3 separate regions of the Homo sapiens genome follow, and all the other regions are linked to region 3. Evidence: promoter capture Hi-C in 16 types of primary human blood cells and fetal thymus (Javierre and others, 2016). All regions are on one chromosome and are shown on one strand. The core of a region is centred on a gene start or on the middle of the fragment in contact, and the rest is flanking DNA. Distances in the headings are between cores, read along the strand shown. Region 1 overlaps OTUD6B-AS1 (OTUD6B antisense RNA 1). Region 2 overlaps OTUD6B (OTU deubiquitinase 6B). Region 3 holds the start of C8orf88 (chromosome 8 open reading frame 88).

Region 1 (2,914 bases), core at 111-2,610, 75 kb after region 3:
TCATGTATCAACGAAGAAATCAAAAGAGAAATTAGTACTTTGAATTGGAAAAAAAAACACAACAAACCAAAATTTGTGGAATGCTCTAAAGCAATCCTCAAATAAAAAATTATCCCATGAAACTGTCTGTATTAGAAAGAAAAAAAATTTCAAGTCAACAGCCTCAGCTTCCACTTTAAAAAACTAGGCACAAAGGAGCAAATAAAACCTAAATTTAGCAAAGGAAAGGAAATAATAAATCTGAGAGAACTGATGTGTTCAGAGGGAGCATGGCTTTGACATCTTAACTTCAAACTTTAGCCTTCAGAATTATAAAATAATACATTTCTATTGTTTTAAGCCACCCATATTTTGATACTTTGTTACTGCAGGCCAAGGAAACTAACACAGCTTGTAAGGATCACGCAGCTGCTGTTTGTATTATGATATTTATATTAAGTGGATTTATTAACAGTGGTCACATTTGAGGACTGGAGTTAGAGAAAGGAATTCTTAAATTCACATACATATTTTATTTAAAAGTAATGTTATTTTAAGAATATTTAAGTAAATTATATATGGTAAAATAGCTTCATGTTGTATTTTAAGGATAACTTAAATACTAAAAAATTAAAGTAACTTCTATACAAGGATAAAAGAGTGTACCTGTCTGTAGAATAAGTAAATAAGAGCTGTACTAACTAGTCAAATGAGTATAACTAAGATTTTAACACTGTTAAAAATGACATATCTTTTCCCAATTTCTATTCGATAATTTATAACTTTTGCTGAAAAAGTAAATCAAATATTTTAATTTGTAGCTTGTGATTAGATAATACATTTAATTTTTCTTTAAAAAAACTAAGGAAGTAAAGGTGGAAATCTTTGATGTGTTTTTGTTTTCCCTTTCCCAGTGCTTTCCATTCTTAATTCTACTCACCATGTTACTCAAAACAGGCACCACTAATTACCCAATTTCAGTATAATCAAAATGCTAGAAGGAAATAAAGTACCTTAATGACATGTCTTAAGCCTTCCAAACCTTGATAGCGTAAACCAAAAAGCATCCGAGACAGGACTCAATCAATTTAGAATTTTATTTTGCCAAGCTTAAGGATATGCCCGGAAGAAAGAAACACAAATCCACAGGAACAATCTATGGTTCATACCTTTTTAGAAAGATGATTTTGAGGGCTTCAGTATTTAAAGGGGGAAAGCAGGCTGGAGGGGAAAGAGAGAGGATATGGTCCCATTGCTGACTCCATGTGTTGCAAGAGAAAAGGAGCAGGCTGGGGAATAGTCAATTAGGTAATCCTCTTACGCTCAATAAATTGGCACTTTACATAAGGTGAACATAGAGTACCTACCTATGGAGATATCTGACCTTTTATCTGTAGCTATTAGCTTAGGAACAAAAGCGAGCAGTTTCTTGCATGACTCAGCGTTCAGCTTACTTTCTTCCTTTTGGCTTTGTGAATTGGGGTACCGAGATTTTGTTTTTTTTTCCACAATGGGAGAATCATAATGACAAATTTATAAATATAATATATAATTTTTCTTACCCTTTGTGAAATTCTTCATTTAAATTCCTAAAATTTTATGAGATTAAAATACATTTAGTAACAATCAACTTTTTTAATACAAAGATTCTAGAAAAGCTTAAGGTACATTATTAGCTATGGTCATTCATTCTGTCTTGAAGTTTAATAGAAATGCTTTTTTCAGCACCGAACTGTGATCTTCAGGACCATCCTTCCCTCCTTTCCTCTCTCCCTCTCTTCCTTCCTTTTCTCTTGTTCATTCTTTCATTCTTCCTCTTTTTTTGAGGGGTTGGAGTAGAAGGGTAGGCATATACAATTGTGAGGTCTGGAATCTACTTCATATAAGGACAAGGAGCAACTCTGGATAAAAAGAGAGTAATATACATGCTTTATTTGCCTGCAACTTGTGGGAAAGAGCATCAGAAGGCAGGAGAGGCACTTGGAAGGGGAAGTGAGAGAACATTGAAGATAAATCCCACTTCTTCTGTGGTTTTTTACTAGGGTGGATACTCATGTACTGACAAGCAAGTATCATCTTTAGCAGACTCTACCTGAGATAATGATCTGCTTTTATTTGTCACTGATTTTACTTTCCACAGGGTATCAGGATGAGGAACCTTCAAATCATGCATCACATTGAATCTCTTGGTGGCAAAGGTAGCATGGAGGTGGCACATAGCATCTGTGGTACAGGTAGGAGATTGCTAACCCTTGTTCAAGATGACATTGATAGGCAAATAGCCAGGAATATGCTTTTCTCTTGGAAGTGCCTACTCCACTTACTCTGAAAGGCTGACTCCTCACGATTCAGATCTCTGCCTACATGTTACCTTCTCAGGTAGATCATCTCTGAACAGATTCCCACCCCCATCCCATATACCTTATTATTCTGTTACAGTACTCTATTGGTTTCCTACATAGTACTTAATATAATTTGTGCTTGTCCATTTTTTTGTTTACTTACATATTGACTAATACATTTATTTACTTGTTTGTTACAAGTAAATAATGTCTTTATAAGAGGAATATGCCTTTTTAGCTCTCCAACATTTGCCCAGTGTTTATCGCAGTACCTGGAGCATAGCAGTTTCTCAATAAATATCAGTGGAAAGGAGTAATTTAAAATTTAAATTTAAAAAATCCAAACATGAGGCTGTAATTCTTATTGTGATTCTCAAAGATCCTGATTACTTGGTCGGGATTTTGATGGAGAAGCAGGAAGAGAGACAACATGTATTTCTGCCTCCAGATTAAGTAAATATTGTAGAAGAAGGAAAATAATTATTTCATTTATTAATCCTAGCGTGCATATTTGATATCTCTTAATATTAAAATAGTTCCTGCTATCTCTTGTATTTGTAATACTCCTCATGTTTATCTATTGCAAGTATATA
Region 2 (2,994 bases), core at 116-2,615, 100 kb after region 3:
GGTCTAATGGAAGTTACATATGCTTTCTTTTGTCCTAACTCTGAAAAGTATATGTCAGAGTTCTGGAATATGTCTTTAGCCAAGAATTTTATTCACTTAAATTTGTTTACAACTTGTATAAAGCAAAAAAGAATGTGTGTAACTATAGTGAACGCATAGTTTTGCTTATATTATGTGATGTTTGCCAAAAAAAGAATAAAAAATGAATGAATTAAATCAACATTTATTTGCTTGAATTGTCATTCTTTAACAATTCAAGAATTTAGAAGTGGAGAAAACTCCTTTTGCTTTGTATCCAGCCTTTACTTTGTCTTCACACACAGATTCTTACATTTTAAGGGATTTTGAATAAATATATGAGCATAGCTTATGCCCCAGAAGTAGAGGGAAATAAAGTAATAGCCATTTAAGCTATAGCTCTTAGAAATCAGGTACAATCTTAGAACCTTTTAGAATAATGAATGTTTATTTAGGGTAAGTGAATTTGAAAAATATTTTAAGACCCATAGATGTTAAAATAAAGAATAAACATTTGTGTGCAAGAATGTGGAGCAGTAAGAAGGAAGTTTGTACAAATTAATGTTTTCACACAATTGTTAATATAGTGCCTTCTTGGTACAGGTTCTTATGAAGTAGCTGAAGGACTAGATCAGTTGATCTTCTGAGAATTTATTTGGTGATTTCATGCTTTTTTTTTTTAAACTTTTATCGAACAGATGAAATTTTTCTCTGCCTGTTCTGTTACCTCATACATTGATTGTTTCCTCCTGTCTTAAGTCTTTATCTTAGAGCTCATGAGGTTTTAATTCTTAACACATGGGTCTTTTAACCCACCATTGTTCTCTCCCACTTGAGGTCTTGGAACTACCATTCAGAATTGAATGTTTCACCCAACCTGCTTTATCCAGCTTCCTTGTCTTTCTAGTCTCAGTTTACATATTGATAGTACCTTCTGAGACAACCCTCCTCAGACTCCTCCCAATCTTGTTTCTTTCTAATACGTACACACTTGTAATCACTTACTTGAATTTAGTTGTTTTTCATCTATTTTTTTCCATACTGTGTTAAGAGCTTAGAAACAAGAATTTCTTGTTCACTGCTCTTAAAATACTTAGCACATTGCCTGGCCTGTCTGCATTGCGTGCTTAAAAAATGTTTGTTGACAGACTATCAGTTGAGAGGATAGGATATGAGTAAGAAGTTGCATTAGGTTAACAGACTGCTGGGAATAGAGAGATGGATATGATTTAGAATTGTGCTTGCTCGCAAAAGGCCTGCTTTTTAATTTACCTTGCCCTTGGATGAATTCTTCAAGTCTTTTGGTCAGTTGAAGGGAGAAAGGGAACCCAACAGAGCTTTCATTTTTCTTAACTTCCAAAAGTAATGTTTCAGCTAATTTACCTTCATATACCAATTAGGGTAATGTCTGATTTTAATAAATCTACACAAATATAAGAATCCTATAAAATAAGTGTACAGTTAGAAAAAAATTAAAACCTTTTTTAATATACTGACCATGAAGAAGTTTTATAGTTGTCTTATTTCAGTATAATCAGGATGACTAGTATGACATACTGGAACAAATTGCTGCCTTTCTATAAGGCTGCTGAATTTTTATTTCCGTGAATAGGGATGATATATAATCTAGCTCTTGTTTGTCACTCTTGTATTGACAAAAAGTCTTATTTATTGTTTATAATTTTAACCAAATATAGGATTAACATGGGGATCAATAACTTCAGTGCATGAGTTGATGAACAAAAATAATGACCTCACTTTAAAAAGTAAATTACATGAGTTTTTAAAATTTTTCATTTCATTTTATTTCTTAATTTTCTATTTTAGATTTAAAGGGTACATGTGCAGGTTTGTTACATGGGTATATTTTATAATGCTGGAATGTGTGTTTTTATAGAATCTGTCACCTAAATAGTGAACATTGTACCCAATAGGTAGTTTATCAACCTCCCCTACCCTTTTGGAGTCCCCACTGTCTGTTATTTCCATCTTTATGTCCATGTGTATCCATTGTTTAGCTCTCATTTTATAAGCGAGAACATGTGGTATTTGATTTTCTGTTTCTGTGTTAATTCACTTAGATAATGGCTTCTAGCTACGTCCATGTTGCTGCAAAGGACATGATTTCATTCTTTTTTATAGCTGCATAGTATTCCATGGTGTCTATGTACCACATTTTCTTTAATCTACCAGTGATAGGCACTTAGGTTGATTCCATGACTTTGCTATTGTGAATAGTGCTTTGATAAACATGAGTGTAGATGTTTTTTTGATAGAATGATTTCTTTTCCTTTGGGTAGATAACCAGTAGTGGGATTGCTGGATTGAATGGTAGTTACATCTTTAATTCTTTGGGAAATCTCCATACTGTTTTCCACAGGGGTTGAACTAATTTACATTCTCACCAACAATGTATAAGTGTTCCCTTTTCTCCATATCCTTGGCAATTTCTGTTAATTTTTGGCTTTTTAATAATACCCATTCTGACTGGTGTGAGATGGTACCTCATTGTGGTTTTAATTTGCAGTAAGTAAGGGTTTTTTTCACTTTGCCAAATCCTGATGGAAAAATTGCTGTTTTTGAATCAGGCATTTCCCCCACCCCCCACCCACCCCTACTCTTGTGACTGACATTGGAAAGGCCTGATATACCTAGATCAGAGATTTTCATCAGTGGCACTATTAACATTTTGAGTTGGATAATTCTTTGTTGTGGCATTGTAAGATGTTTAGCAGCAGCATCTCCTTTCTAAGTACCTGTATCATCCCCCTCCAAAGTTGTAAGAACAAAAAATGTCTCCCTGGGAACAAAATTGCCCCCAGTTGAGAACCACTTACTAAATCATAAGTTTTATTGCTAATGAGGTTGGAAAGTTCTAAAGAAAACCATTTAGATCACAAATTGGACACATTAGGCAGTTAGTCATCTACTTTACATGACTTTAGCAACTGCCTAATGCCAGACTTACATGAATCC
Region 3 (2,700 bases), core at 125-2,624:
GTCCATTTATTACATGTGGACACTGCGTGTATAGATTTAAAAATTAATGTGAAAAGTAACATTTATTTATAAGGCCATGCAGAATAAATTGGTATATGCTAATAATATCCATTTCTTCAATTTACCATTTTTCTTAGAATACTAAATAAATTAGGGAGTACTGTGCTTTCCTCACGCTACAGACATGGTATACTGCCATACTAACCATAGATCACAGCATATGAAATATACTATGCACTGTTTTTAGAAGCTGAGTACTATACTTAAACTCCAATATAAATTCTAGTCTTCTTTGGAAAGTACTGATGCTACCGCTGCCGTTGAGAAATAAGATCATATAAAGTGAAATAATGAAATGAAAAGACCATATTTGAATTTACCTTGTGTATAATTCCCATATGATAACCAGATAAAATTTCATCTCAATTTCCAACTTCAAAACATTACAAAGTTAGGATTCCTTGAAACCCAATACTGCTTGTAAGTAAACTGCTCACACTGACAAAATGATAGATGAAGAGAAACATACAGGAAACATCGGGGAGTAAGAAATAAACCACCTATGACTCAAGTGGTGAAAGACATTTCACGTTCCATATATCTGGTTGCACTATTAAGGAAAAATTAAAACGAAAATATCAAAAAACTAGAAGCTTGGAGAGTTCCAACATATCTTCCATTTCATGCCTTCTCTTTATAACTAATTTAATTTTTTTTTTGGTCTATTTGAGGGATTTCTCAAAACAAAACACAATTTAACATTCGGATGGGCTAAAGCTGTCCAGGTAATAGGTGTCTGTGATTACTTTAGTCATGTAACTGTCCTTTCCGTAGCTTTGACTAAAACACCAGCAATGAAAACCTTGTGCCACCGGGTGGAGGGGGCAAATCGTCTTGAAAGCCTCCCACCGCCTGGCACCAGGTGCTGGGGCAGAGCCAAGGGGAGCTGTGTACTTAGCTCCTTTTTTGGCGATGGCTTTGGTCTCGGCCACTTGCCCCTCCGTCGGGCTCCCCTGGCCCCCTACACTTTCTTTCCCCTCATCCGACGCTCTCGCTCCCATCCCACTCCCATTCAGGGTCCACAGGGTACTGAAGGGGCCCTGAGAGATTTCCCGACCCACCTCAGAGCTTCTCTTCCTCGCCTCAACTTTCCCGGGGTCGGGCCTGGGAGACGGCGCCCACCCGCCTCCTCCACACCACGGGGCCCGACTTCCGTCCCCCAGTGTCGCTCATCCTCCCTAGCCACTTACCGACTCAAAATCCACGGGGATTTCGGGGCAGCAGCGTCGCCGCGCTCAGCCCACACGCGGAGGCCGAGCGCCCTGCTGCCCGTCGGGGAACGGCTCCTGCCGCTGGTCCGCTGGCTGACCGCGGTGGCGGCGGCGGGGGGCGAGGGGCGGGGGGCGAGGGGCGGGGGGCGGGGCGGGAGGCGGCTCCGAGGGGCACGAGGCGGGCCCAGGGCGGGCGCGGGGCGTGGCCTCGGGCGCTGAGCCTCGAGAGCAGCCGCACCCCTGCCGGGGTAGAACCGTTAAAAGGGTGGCGCGCGCTTTCCCGGGCGAGCTGGGCGCGTGGGGTTGGAGCGGCGCCACCCAGAGCCGGTCGTCTAGGGTAGGAGGCCGCGAGTGAGGCGCTGACAGGCTAGCCCTCGACGGGGCGCGCCCGCGTGAACGGCCTTGGGGGCCCCAGACCGTGGCCCTGCTTGTGCGAAGACTGGGAGGCGCCAGGCGGGCCGCCTGCTGGGGGCTTGGCGGCGGGTTCCAGGCAGCGTCTGTGAGGGAGGCCGCCTCTGTGAGGGAGGCCGCCGTCGTGCTGACGACTGAGTCCACCCTACTCCTGTCCCCCGTCAGAGCTGCTGGCAGGCGCTGCTTTCCCCTTGGTGCATTTAGTGGGTGTCGGGATTCGGGTTGGCAGGGAGGAAGATGTTTGAGACCTGGTTTACCTCAGACCAGGGATACAGCGTTTCACACAGACTGCCATCCTGAAAGGAACAAAATGAATTAAGGCAACTCCATCCGAATCATTTCTTTTTAATCTTCACCTTCAATCCTTTTGCTAATTTTTCATTATCTTTGAGTGTCCCCAGAGGGGGACTGTCTGCTTGTACTGAGGGACGTGGAGGTGGCAGTCCCTCACGTCCCCAAGCACCAAAAGGACAGTTGAAAATGCACTGGCAAACACTGAACGGTTTTAAGTGGGGCACTATCAGGATTTACCATTTTGGAAGGTATGAAGTTTCACAAGCACTTCCATGTATAGTCAAGTTATTGGAGCTGTCTCCGTTTAGAAATGGCTTCCAGAAACACTCCTACTATCCACTGAGACAACTCGCCTGGCATCAGAGACCTAGGGTCCAGGGTCAGAGATGGGTCATGATAAAAGGGCATCCCTTGGGGTGAGGCACCAGAAGTCTGCACAGTGGAATCAATATATTCCAACCACCAGATGTAGAAAATCTTAAGTGCAGGATGTGGTTCTCATCCATCTAGTCACAACAGAAGTTTTCTTCTTCAGGAATATACTTAACAATGAAGCATGTATAATTTTATATACATCTTACAATAAAATTATTTTGTGCATATCACTGTATGAAGTCAGTAGAAACTATTGTGACAAAAATGTAAATTGGAAGAATTCCAATTCAGATCAGTATTAGTAATTTATTGAGAGGAAGAGAGAAATTAGACTAGACAGACTCCTTGA

The links. Contacts are between HindIII fragments. The CHiCAGO score rates a contact against its expected background, and 5 or more counts as called.
Region 1: a fragment that was not itself captured here is called in contact with the fragment with the promoter of C8orf88 in region 3 in 1 of 17 cell types (fetal thymus); the score reaches 8.7 in fetal thymus.
Region 2: a contact is called between a fragment that was not itself captured here and the fragment with the promoter of C8orf88 in region 3, in 3 of 17 cell types (fetal thymus, monocytes and M2 macrophages). The highest score is 7.7, in fetal thymus.

What each region holds. Positions count from the first base shown.
Region 1 is chr8:91,058,848-91,061,761 of GRCh38, forward strand. OTUD6B-AS1 (OTUD6B antisense RNA 1) reads right to left here. Exons shown (of 3, transcript NR_110438.1): 3 at 1,059-2,914. Among named protein-coding and RNA genes, the nearest start is that of OTUD6B-AS1, 9.9 kb to the right of the region's middle. The HindIII fragment of the contact is 549 bases long and covers 1,087-1,635 here.
Region 2 is chr8:91,086,874-91,089,867 of GRCh38, forward strand. It overlaps OTUD6B (OTU deubiquitinase 6B), which reads left to right. Exons shown (of 7, transcript NM_016023.5): 7 at 1-220. Among named protein-coding and RNA genes, the nearest start is that of LRRC69, 14 kb to the right of the region's middle. The HindIII fragment of the contact is 5,637 bases long and covers 1-2,994 here.
Region 3 is chr8:90,983,864-90,986,563 of GRCh38, forward strand. C8orf88 (chromosome 8 open reading frame 88) reads right to left here and starts at 1,375. Exons shown (of 6, transcript NM_001190972.2): 1 at 1,251-1,375. RefSeq lists a silencer at 1,399-1,558. The HindIII fragment of the contact is 2,363 bases long and covers 652-2,700 here.